Regions from separate parts of the Homo sapiens genome. Here region 2 is linked to region 1. The links are contacts of gene promoters, found by promoter capture Hi-C in blood cells and fetal thymus (Javierre and others, 2016). All regions are on one chromosome and are shown on one strand. Each heading gives the region's core, a stretch centred on a gene start or on the middle of the fragment in contact. The rest is flanking DNA. Distances are from core to core; before and after follow the strand shown.

Region 1 (5,736 bases), core at 2,400-4,899:
CAGCTGCTCACATCCCATGGCTCCAAACATGGGAGGCACCAGGTCAGCGAGGCCAGAGTATGTCAACCCCTTCCTCAGGGGCCCCAGCAAACCATGGACTGCATGGCTGTGGGCTGCGTGACAGCCCTTGTCCAAAGAAGGGGGTGGCCACTGTGAGTGGAGATACAATGACCTGATGACTGCTGAGAGCCAAGCAGTGCTCTGGCCCAGGGAGGAGCATCACCCAGCCTGCAAGCCCTGCCCTGGGCAGAGGCCCCTCAGGGAGCCTGGTTGTCTGCAAGGAAGGCTGCAAACCACTGGATGGGGTCATGGCTCAGATCCCAGTAGGGGCTGAACTGTATCCCCCAAAATTCATCTGCTGAAGTCCTAACCCCCAGAATGCAACCTTATTTGAAAACAGGTTAACTGCAGATGCGGTCAGTAAGGATCAAGAGGTCCTAGAGTAGTGTGGGCCCCCACCCATCAGGACTGGTGTCCCTATAAAAAGGAGAAATTTGGAAACACCCACCCAGAGACTGGGATGATGCATCTGTGTGCCAAGCAACACCCCAAATCACCAGCAAACCACGGGAAGCTGGACAGAGGCCTGGAACAGGGTCTGCCCTAGAGACTTCCGAGGGAGCACAGCCCTCCTGACACCTCGATGTGGTACTTCTGGCCTCCAGAGCTGTGAGACCAGAGACCTCTGCTGTTTAAGCTACTCAGGTGTGGTTCTTTGTGATGGCAACCCCACAAAACTAATATAGGCCCTTGTAAGTGCTAAGTTCTTAGGTAGGCATAGACGTTTCTGTGTATCAAAAAAGGAGGGCAGTACATTTTTATTCTGGCTGAAATTGCTATGTTTTTGTAGCTTCGTTGATCTTAGTTCACTGTCATGGAATAGGCCGCAGGGGAGCTTCTGGCCAGGCATCGCCCGGGGATCCGGCTTTGGGCTGTGAAGTTCTTGTGATGACGGCCCCTCCTACCCAGTGATGGCCCCTTGGCCCTCTGCTGCCCCTGCAGCTCACTGCTGCGTCCGCACCCGGGGCACAGGACTGTGAATTGCCATTCATTTCCACTTCCTGTTGATGTTTCCCTACAATGTGGTCTTTAGTGTGGAGATTGTCATTCCATCTCTGAAGGCACTGGGCACTGCCAGCCCCCAGCCCAGTCCCCCACCGGTGGGCACCACGCAAGGGGGCTTGCCACATCAGAGTCACATTTCCTACGCATTGTGGACCCTGCTGGTTACCCCTCACACCCGCCCCGTGACAGGGTCATGATGATTTAACCTAGTGGGGCTGGTGAGGCACAGAGAGGCTAAGGACCAAACAGCCAGTCTGGGTGCAGTGGCTCACAACCAAATTCCCAGCACTTTGGGAAGCCAAGGTGGGCAGATCACTTGAGGTCAGGAGTTCATGACCATCCTGGCCAACATGGTAAAACCCCATCCCTACTAAAAATACAAAACAAATTAGCTGGGCATGGTGGCACATGCCTATAATCCCAGCTACTTGGGAGGCTAAGGTGGGAGGATTGCTTGAACCTGGGAGGCCGAGGTTGCAGTAAGCAGAAATCTCACCACTGTACTCCAGCCTGGGCAACAGAGCGAGACTCCATCTCAAGCAAACAAAAAAGAAACAAAGAGCCAGGTCACACGGACAATGACAGGGTGGAGTTCCACTCCAAGGTGCACCCGCTGCTCCTGTGCTCTGCTGGGAGGGACACACCCCAGGTAAGAACCCTGCTTGTCTACAGCACTTCACCATTGCCTTTGTCCTGTTAATTCAGGAAAGCATTTGCTTGATCTTTCCTTCTGTGATTGGAGAGGCCATGGGAGAGTGGATGCATGCTGGCTCTGGATGGCTCCAGGTGCTGCAGGTGCTTCCAGGTGGCCAGGAACTTCATCAGCACACAGAGGCGCTGGCGCTTTCCATAGAGTCAGCGTGCCAGGGCAGGAGGCGGGCACTGGGGCTTCTGGACTTCGCCTCTTTACCAAGCTGCACACTGTAACGCTCCCTGATGTGGAGCTGAGGGAAGAGCTCCGCCCAGCGGCTGTGACCGAGGCCTGAGCAGCAGCATCTTTTCTGGCCCCGGCCCCTGTGCTTGGATGCTGCGTGGGACATTCATTCACCCTCAGGGCTTTAGTGCTCAGAACGCAAGAACCCTGTCCTTGAAGTTTGCATGCGCAGGCACCTCTGGTCCTTCCCAGGGCTGCTGGTGAGGGGCGTGCAGGAGGGGGATGCTGCCTTGACAGAGGGTGGAGGGTCCCCTGAGCTGGCCCGAGCTGCTCGTGTCCCTCTGTCCGGCTTCTCTGAGGCCTTTCTTTGTGCCTTCCTTGAAGCAGTAGGCCGGCCCAGGCCCTGTTGTGAAAGACATTCCTAGTGAAACCGAATGTCACATCACGCTGCCAAGTCTGAGATTCACATTCCTCCCCTCACTCCTCAGCCTCTGTCCGCCCGGGCTCTTGGGAAGAGAAGTGGTTCAGGGATAGGTGATCCTGACGATGATCTCCTGGTGTTAATATTTCTAATGCCAAGGTTTTGAAAAACATGTTAAGTTTCTAAATATCTTCCGTAAAGTTAAGCCTGCACTCAAGGGAAGTCACTACAATGACTTAGCCAAGAGGAGCTCAGGAGTTTTTTTAAACGTATAGTGTTGATGTCTGGGAGAGGATCACGGGTGGATAGGAGAGCTGAGAGCCTGCTTCCTCCCTCCCAGCCATCACTGCCAGTCCTTGAGAGGCTTGGTCCCCTCCCCGGTGTCTGGAGGGCTCCTCCTGGAGGTTCCCAGACCTCTTGGCTCTGGTGATGGGAATGCCTGGCCCTCCTTGACTTTGGTCACAGAGCAGGAAGCCTTAGGGAGCATGCGGTTGTGCACCTTCACTTTTGCAGGTGAAAAGTAACTGAGGACCAGAAAGATGACATGCAGCTGGCTCAGGGCTGAGTTCCGGAGCCTGGGGTTTGTCCTGGGGCCTCCTTATCTCCAATGGGAAGAAAACCGTCTTGGTTTTGCGGCGGGGACCTCAGGCACGGGTGCTTGGAGAAAGCTGTTGACCCTCCTTCTTTGGGTTTTCCGCACCTAATGAGGGGAGAGGTGACATTTGTCAGGTGCGGCTCAGGCATGAAGCTAAGCAGGACAGCTCAGAGCGTCCAGATCATGTACCTGAGAGCATGTCCTCGGCTGTAACAGGAGTGCATCTGTGAGGCCCGATACACGAACCACACGTGGCTATTCATTCAAATTACATGGAGTTCGAAGTCCAGTTCCTTGGTCGCAGTAGTCACATTTCAGAGCCACACAGGTGGTACTGGATGGCACTGTCAGGGCAGAACCTTCCAGTGACTGAGCCACTCTGAGCTGCCCCCATGCCAGCCTCCCCTGGAATCTGTTAGCAATGCTGATTCTCAGGCCCAGCCCAGACCTGACAGATCAGACTCTCTGGCGGGGGTGGGGGGACAGCCGCCCCGTCTCCACAGCTCTCCCAGGATTCGGATGCAGCTGGAGTTTGGGGACCACTCTGTGAGTCATCTGGAGAGCACGCTGATAACTCAGTTTCATTTCTGTGGCCAGATCAAGTAGTTTCATTTCTCTCCCTGTTTGTTGATGACGGAGCAGGGGAGGGAGTGGTTCATATGCCACATAAAAGTGAAGTGGAGGAAAGGGAAGAGATGATTTCTCCATCCTGAACGTGCAGCGGTAAGAGCGGGGCCGGTGCAGGGAGGGCTGCTTTGTGTCTGATGCACAGCAGATGCGTGTTTAAAAAATATTTCCTGAGTAACGTGACATCTGCTTGGTGAATGTGGCTTGTGCTGGGAGGCAGGAGCCACAAAGATAAGATTCTGGTGTGAGGAGCAGAAAGGGCCCATGTTGCCACCAGCCCACAGTAGCCTTGTGCACAGACAAAGAGGCTCTGGAGGGGAAGTGGCTGGCCCTGGGGACAGGGTGGCCTCCATCCTGATCTGGCCAAAAGTCGGGTGGACGCAAAGGGGTGGTTTTTAGGACAGCTTTGCTCAGCGTCCTACAAAGTCTGGGGGTTGAGTAAGGAGCTTTGTGCCCGAAAAGTCGTCTCGGAGGGTTTCAAGTGTTCCTTCTTTTGTGGTATTTGTGATGCTCTGACGTAACCTTAGTGACGGTGATATGCTGGGAAATTGGCTCTCATGGGGCGGGGCAGGGCAGAGGGTGGTGCCTGATTTCTAGCCTTTGCCGATTCTCTTCCGTTCTCATGGTGTGAATGCTCCCACCGTGGCCAGTTCCCAGCCAGTAGGGGCCAACTCCAGCACTCTGGACCACTGCACCCTGGATCGCCTGCACTCTGGGGGCTGAAGTCCATTTTATAATTGATATAGAGCGGAAAGGAGACATGGTGGTATTGATGACGCAGTTTTTTTTTCTTTTTTTTTTTTTTTTTTTTTTTTTTGAGAGAAGTTCTCGTTCTGTTCCCCAGGCTGGAGTGCAGTGGCGTGATCATGGCTCACTGCAGTCTCAAGCTCCCGGGCTCAAGGGATCCTCCCACCTCAGCCTCCCAAGTAGCTGGGACTACAGGTGTGCACCACCACACCTGGTTAATTTTATTTCTTTTTGTAGAGACAGGGGCTCTCTATGTTGCCCAGGCTGGTCTCAAACTCACTGGCTCAAGAAGTCCTTACGCCTCAACCTCCCAAAGCACTGGGATTACAGGCGTAAGCCACCCCATTCGGCTTTGATGACACCTTTTGAACACTGTTCTTTCTCATTTTGTGTTTAGAATGTTGTCTCTAGCTGTTTAAAAAGATCAGGATTCCAAGCTATCTTTCCTCGCACCCTCTCCTCCGTTTACTCTGCTCTACTTCCCAGCCCCGCGCCAACCCCTGAAGCACTTTTGACTCCCTTCGGATGTACAATTTTTTTTTCTTTTTCTTTTTTGAGACAGGGTCTTCCTGCTCTGTTTCCCAGGCTGGAGTGCAATGGTACCATCATAGCTCACTGCAGCCTTAAACTTCCGGGCTCAAGTGATCCTCCTGCCTCGGCCTCCCAATGCATTGGGATTACAGGTGTGAGTCCCTGCGTCTGGCCAGGATGTATGTGAGCTTTATTTAGGTTTAGCCCCTGCCCTAGAATGCAAGCTCCCCCAGAGATCTTTGTCTGCCTGACTCGATATGTATCTCAAGGACTTAGTGCTCAATATATATCTTTGAGTGGGTGAAAAACAAGCGGTCTTAAAAAGAAAGGAGGTGAGCCCGGGGAGATAAGGTCGCATTCAGTGCCAGTGCTTGGTCAGCCATGACCCTGCACCATGCGAGTGACATTGGGACTGGAGCAAAGGGACACAGCAGAGTGGCCCCTGGTGCCCAGGACCCGGCAGAGCTCTCGGACTGGTTGCAAGCCAGCAATAGTGGCTATGCCCGTGTGGGAGACGCAGCTTGCCTTAGACTTCAGCGGGAACCACCATGTCCGGCACAGCCATTTCCATCCTTCCCAGGGGTGCTTACGTGATCCTGGCAGTCTCAGTCAAACTTCCAAACTCAGCAGGGAATGTGTGTGCTTGTCCTCCAATCTCAACACCCTGGGATGCAGTGTCAGGTGCAGGTCAGAGACAGCAGTGGAGACCCGATTCCCAGCCCTGGGCTGGGGCCCCCACAAGGCCTCCAGCATCTCCCCATGGCCCAGTTTCCTCATCTGCAGGACAGGCTCTCTTGAGAATTTGGGGGGATGATAGACCCAAAAGCATTCTGGAGCCAGAGGCTTCTGCCTTCGTCGGGGGCATCAGGGAGTGTC
Region 2 (5,736 bases), core at 2,604-5,103, 640 kb after region 1:
GGAGCTCTTAAAAGACCAGTGGGTGAAATTTGGAGAAAAGGTCTATTTACGAGCAACAGAAAAAACTAAGAGGAAAACCCCCCAGGAAAACCAGTTTCTAAAATAGGGCCGGCTTGCTTACCACTTTGATCCTCGCACACAAATAGCTTCCCAAAGCCTTCCTGGATTGTTTCTACTTCATGTCTTCTGAAATTTCAAAATGAGAGAATCTTTATGGTTAACAATTCACAGAAGACCTTACAGTTCCATGGAAAAGCCTTTCGAATCAGTCTATTTGTCTCAAATCCTGGCTCCGCCACCTATTAGGCATGGAACCTTCTAAAGATGACTCAACCTTTCTGACTAGTTTCCTTACCTGTTAAACATGGCTAACACTACCCACCACATAGGATTTTTATGAAGGACAGAAGAGGCAACATGTTTGAAAGCCCCAGTACGTTCAGCACTTCCCATGTGGCACATGCACATCTTCCTTCCTTCTCCACTTCCCCTCACAGATGCTTGCGTGGGCCTGCTACCCACCACACATCACAAGAGGTGCTGGTGATGGGGAGATGAGTAACTGGCCTGCTTCTTGTTCTCCTGTAGCTCACATTTCCATGTTAGGACAGACAATAATTAACAAAGGATGTGAAGAATGCTACGGGAATACTGATTCCAGGAAGCAATTAATTTGGCCAGGGTGTAGGAGGGTGGAAGAGTGAATAGTGGGAACTATTCACTATTAACTATGAGTGAATAGTCCTAAGGAAGGCTTGGGACTCATCACTCCTTTGACAATTATAATACAAGCTGAATATCTCTAGTCCAAAAACCCAAAACTACTTTCTGAGCAACGACATGATGCACAAAGGAAAGGCTCATTAGAGCATTTTGGACTTTTGGATTAGGGACGCTGAACCACTGGGTATAATGAGAATATTTCAAAATCCCAAACAATCTGAAATCTGAAACACTTCTGGTCCCAAGCATTTCAGATAAGGGATAGTCAACCTCTAATACTAAAGGTTCCATTCTTTACATTTCTACTATAGACGCTTTTCAGAAATGCTCATCTGGCCTTGCTGGGGCTTAAAACCTTCCAAGGGCTTGCCCTGGCCTCAACTTCCAATTCCCTGGAATGGCTACAAAACCCTTCAGAACTGGATTCCAGAAGATTATTTCATACCATCACTTCAAATTCCTCAGGTAATAAATGCTAAGGGGGTGGGGGACTCATATCTCACATCTTTTTTTTTTTTTTTTGAAGAGTCTCACTCTGTCACCCAGGCTGGAGTGCAGTGGCATGATCTTGGCTCACTGCAACCTCCGCCTCCTGGGTTCAAGCAATTCTCCTGTCTCAGCCTCCTGAGTAGCTGGGACTACAGGCGCCAGCCACCAGGACTGGCTAATTTTTGTATTTTTAGTAGAAATGGGGTTTCACCATATTGGTCAGGCCGGTCTCGAACTCCTGACCTCAGGCGATCTGCCCACCTCGGTCTCCCAAAGTGCTGGGATTACAGGCCAGCCACCTGTAAGATATGAGCCACCGCGCCCGGCCTCATATCTTAACATAAATTAATTCAATGCAAATACTTTCCTCTTTATAGAGTGTTAAATCAGTTGTATGGAATTAAGATTTTTGAGGGAGAGGGAAGGTAGGCAATTTCGAATATAGAGCATTCTAGTGAGAAGCAGAGGAAAGCAAAGCGACTTGGCACTCAGAAGGGTACCAGGGGGTGAGTGAGGGGGTGAGAAACAGAGATGGAAAGGGATCAAAATAATCTCACCTACTTGGACTAGTGTCATAGCTAAGGTACACTATAAATTAAGTTGGCTCCCAGACTAGCCACAAAACTGCTACTACCAGTTCTACAGGAAAATGGCTCTTTACATCCAGCATCAACCTAGATTTCAACTCTGGGAACATGGGTCCTTTGGAATGTTGGGGATTGCTTCTATAGTCCTAACCATGATACTAGAAAAAAGAGGGAATGCATGTAACACAAGGCAAATACCTAGTTAAAAAAACAAAGCATCTACATTTGACTTTGGAACATAAACACACACACACAGACTGCTTATCCCCAAACCCTCATTTCAGGATTTAGCCGTAACACCTACCATTGGATTTTACTATTTGATGGTGATAGGAAGTTGCCTCTGAGTTTCGGTCTTATCATCACTCACTTGGTGACAACGCAAATATCCTCAGATTTCAAACCTAGACTAGCTTATCCAATCCTTCAAGAGGAGTCATGTTACTATCTTGTATTCCATTTCACCACACTTTCAGTCTCTAACAAGGGGGTTTGATTTTGGTTTGATGGTTGTTCTTGGCCACATTCAGGAGAATGATCCTACTCCAACATAGTTCAAGCTCCTTTGCACCTTAGCAGAGCAGACTCTGGTCACAGCCTTTGCTGTTTTCTTCCAGCCACTACACAGCCATTCCACCTCCTGTTAACAGCCCCATGATTTTGCTATAGAAGAACTGCTCTTGTCCCACTGTGTGCTACAGCCTGATGTGCTCCTCTCCCCTACCTCTGGGCTAACCATACAACCAAAGCCAAACCAATCAGAAACTTTGTCCTCGGAATATGAATCCTGAGAAGAATGACAAAGGCAATAAATAAATGAAGCTGACTTATCTCAACGGAGGCCTGAAAATGCAACCTTGCTAGTGCCTGCTACATAGATTCCTGGAGTTAGCTTGGTTTTTGTCCTTCTTCCTGGCCCAGTTTTTTAGCTTTTCTTTTAAGTCCAAGAGCAACCCTGTATCTTTACAATAAACTACTTTTTCCATTCAAGCCAGACAGTTTCTGTTCTTGTTATTAAAGAACCCTAATATATTTCCACGTGGTATTCACTGTTCCTTGTCATGCCTTCCAAACCCATCCTAATACAGCTTCTAGACTGAGCTTCTTAGAACAAAGCTTTGATCGCTCACCCAACATACACGTTAAATATTCCTATTATTAATTCAACTTATTTACTGAATTCCAATTCTGTACAAGGCATGGTTAGATTTATCTGAAATATAGGGGTGCACCAAACAGACAAGACCCCCACTTTCTAGTGAGATAAATCAGATGCTAAGGAAACAAATAAAAAAGACAACCTCAGATTCTGCTAAAAGTTATGGTGGAAATAAATAAGGTGCTATATCGCTGGATGCAGTGCCTAGAGAGGATGGTCAGAAAATACCTTGATGGAATATTTCAGCTGAGACCTAAGATCTGAATGAAGAGAACCAGCTTTGATCCTGTTTAAAAATAAAATAATAAAAACAATTGTTCTCCATTAGGCTAAAATTTTTAAAACAATGACTAAAGGTCTCTATAAAATCTGGTTTCAAATGACTTTTAAAATTTTCTTAGCCAGGTGTGGTGGCTCATGCCTGTAATCCCAGCACTTTGGGAAGCCAAGGCGGGTGGATCACCTGAGGTCAGGAGTTCGAGACCAGCCTGGCCAACATGGTAATACCCTGTCTCTACTAAAAATACGAAAATTAGCCGGGTGTGGTGACGGGCGCCTGTAATCCCAGCTACTCGAGAGGCTGAGGCAGGAGAATCGCTTGAACCTGGGAGGTGAAGGATGCAGTGAGCTGAGATCGTGCCACTACACTCCAGTCACCACTGGGTGACAGCTGAGCCAGAGCGAAACTCCGTCTCAAAAAAAAAAAAAAAATTTTTTTTTCTTTCCCTTAGTTATTCCCTAGTGATCCCTTTCTGCTCCAGATACTCTGTCTCTAAGACCTAACCTGCACATCTGACTTCTCCCACTCCCCAATCTGGAAAGTCCTAGAACTCACCTAAACCCCTCCTCAGCACACTACTCAGAATATTAATCACCTTTCAAAGCTCAGGTCAAGTTCCAGCTACTCCATAAAATCTTCCATTATGGGTTGAATTGTGTCCCCACTCTTCCCTCCCAAATTTATATGATAAAGACTTAGCCTCCAGTACCTGGAGAATGTAGTCATACTTGGAGACATGGTCTCTAAGAGGTAATTAAGTTAAAATGAGGGCTTTAGGGTGACCCCTAAACTGATGTAACTGGTGTTCTTACAGGAGAGGAAGATTAGCACAGAGACATGAACAGAGGAAGGACCAAGTAGGGACAAGAAGATGCCATCTATAAGCCAAAGAGAAGCCTCAGAAGAAGCCAACCCTGCTGACACCTTGTTCTTGGACTTCTAGCTTTCAGAACTGTGGGAAAAGAAATCTGTTGAGTCATCCAGTCTGCAGTACTTTGTTATAGCAGCCCAAGCAAATGAATATACCTTCCTTGACTACTTCATCTTATAACGTGCAAATACCTCAACTTCAGCACCATTTACATGTTTATTCACTGCCTTTATTGTTAGTCATTTGTGTCTCCCCAAGAGGACTGAAAGCTATTTAAAGACTGATAATCTATTTAATATCTTTTGGCATTATCAATGCTCAACATGTTATCTTCCACAACAATAAAGATTTGACTTTTCTGTACTCTTCACTCCAATTAAATGCACGAGTGAAAATTATGGCTGTTAGTTGTTTTGCTGAAGTAAAGCGTATTACATCACTGCCCTGCTTTGGAGTACTGTACTGATTTTTCTATTCCTAAAGAAAATCCAAACTACAGACTGGCATACAAGACTTTTCATACTCTGGTTACAATTCATCTCTCCACCCTTATTGGACACTACTTACCATCTACTCTACAAACTTGCATATCCAGCCTCTGCCACCCAAAATCTCTCTCTTCCCTCTCCTTTACTTGGCTAACTTCTTTCGAAAGATCCAGTTGAAATGTCACCGACTCTACAAAGCTTTTGTAATTTGCCCCTAGCCAGCAGCTCAGTCATCTAAACTACCACAATACTTCATCTCTCTGTAATAACACCACAACTTCTTCAATTAATCTTCTTTTACATGTGTCTCCCCCAAGGGACTCCCTAAAGAAAGAACCCTTGTTTGCATGCACGTATCCCTGATGCCCAGCACAAGGCCTGGCAAGCTAGGTACAGGGCAAAGAGAGAAATCATCAAACTTGAGGCTCAAGACCTGGACTGGCTCACCTTTATTTCTCCAGCATCCGTTACAGAGCCCCAAAACGTGGCAGTATTCTTTGCTTTTTCTATTAGACCTTGTGACTTTAATCACTACTGGACGATGATTCCCAAATCTGTATCTCTGTTTAGACTCTTGAGGCTCCAGCCTCTCAGGTACCTACTGAACGGTTCCATCACAGTATATCCTCAGGTCCAGCATGGTACTTAAACTCCACAACTCTCGTCCCTGCTCCCACATCTGTTTGTCCTCACATATTCCCGATTTACTTTGGTGTGTTGCCAGACCCTAAAATTTCTTCTCTTTCCCTTATAGCCTATCACTGTGACCTGGTCAAACCTAGCTCTTACATAGCTTATAATCTGCTCTCTCTACTTCCATTGGCTTTGCGGACAACTAAAACTGTCCCTTCGGCTGGGCGCAGTGGCTCATGCCTGTAATCCCAGCACTTTGGGAGACCAAGTGGGGTGGATCACGAGGTCAGGAGATCTCAAGGCCATCCTGGTCAACAGGATGAAACCCCGTCTCTACAAAAAAAAAAAAAAAAAAAAAAAAAATTAGCTGGGCGATGTGGCGGAAGCCTGTAATCCCGGCTACTCAGGAGGCTGAGGCAGGAGAATCGCTTGAACCAGGGAGGCGGAGGTTGCAAAACCAGGGAGGCGGAGGTTGCAGTGAGCCAAGATCACGCCATTGTACTCCA

The links. Contacts are between HindIII fragments. The CHiCAGO score rates a contact against its expected background, and 5 or more counts as called.
Region 2: a fragment that was not itself captured here is called in contact with the fragment with the promoter of MX2 in region 1 in 1 of 17 cell types (neutrophils); the score reaches 5.0 in neutrophils.

Annotation. Positions count from the first base shown.
Region 1 is chr21:41,358,378-41,364,113 of GRCh38, forward strand. It overlaps MX2 (MX dynamin like GTPase 2), which reads left to right and starts at 3,650. Exons shown (of 14, transcript NM_002463.2): 1 at 3,650-3,678. RefSeq lists enhancers at 1-167, 989-1,792, 3,075-3,334, 3,355-4,194. The HindIII fragment of the contact is 29,601 bases long and covers 1-5,736 here.
Region 2 is chr21:42,002,776-42,008,511 of GRCh38, forward strand. It overlaps ZBTB21 (zinc finger and BTB domain containing 21), which reads right to left. Exons shown (of 3, transcript NM_001098402.2): 2 at 122-186. Among named protein-coding and RNA genes, the nearest start is that of ZNF295-AS1, 3.6 kb to the right of the region's middle. The HindIII fragment of the contact is 1,880 bases long and covers 2,914-4,793 here.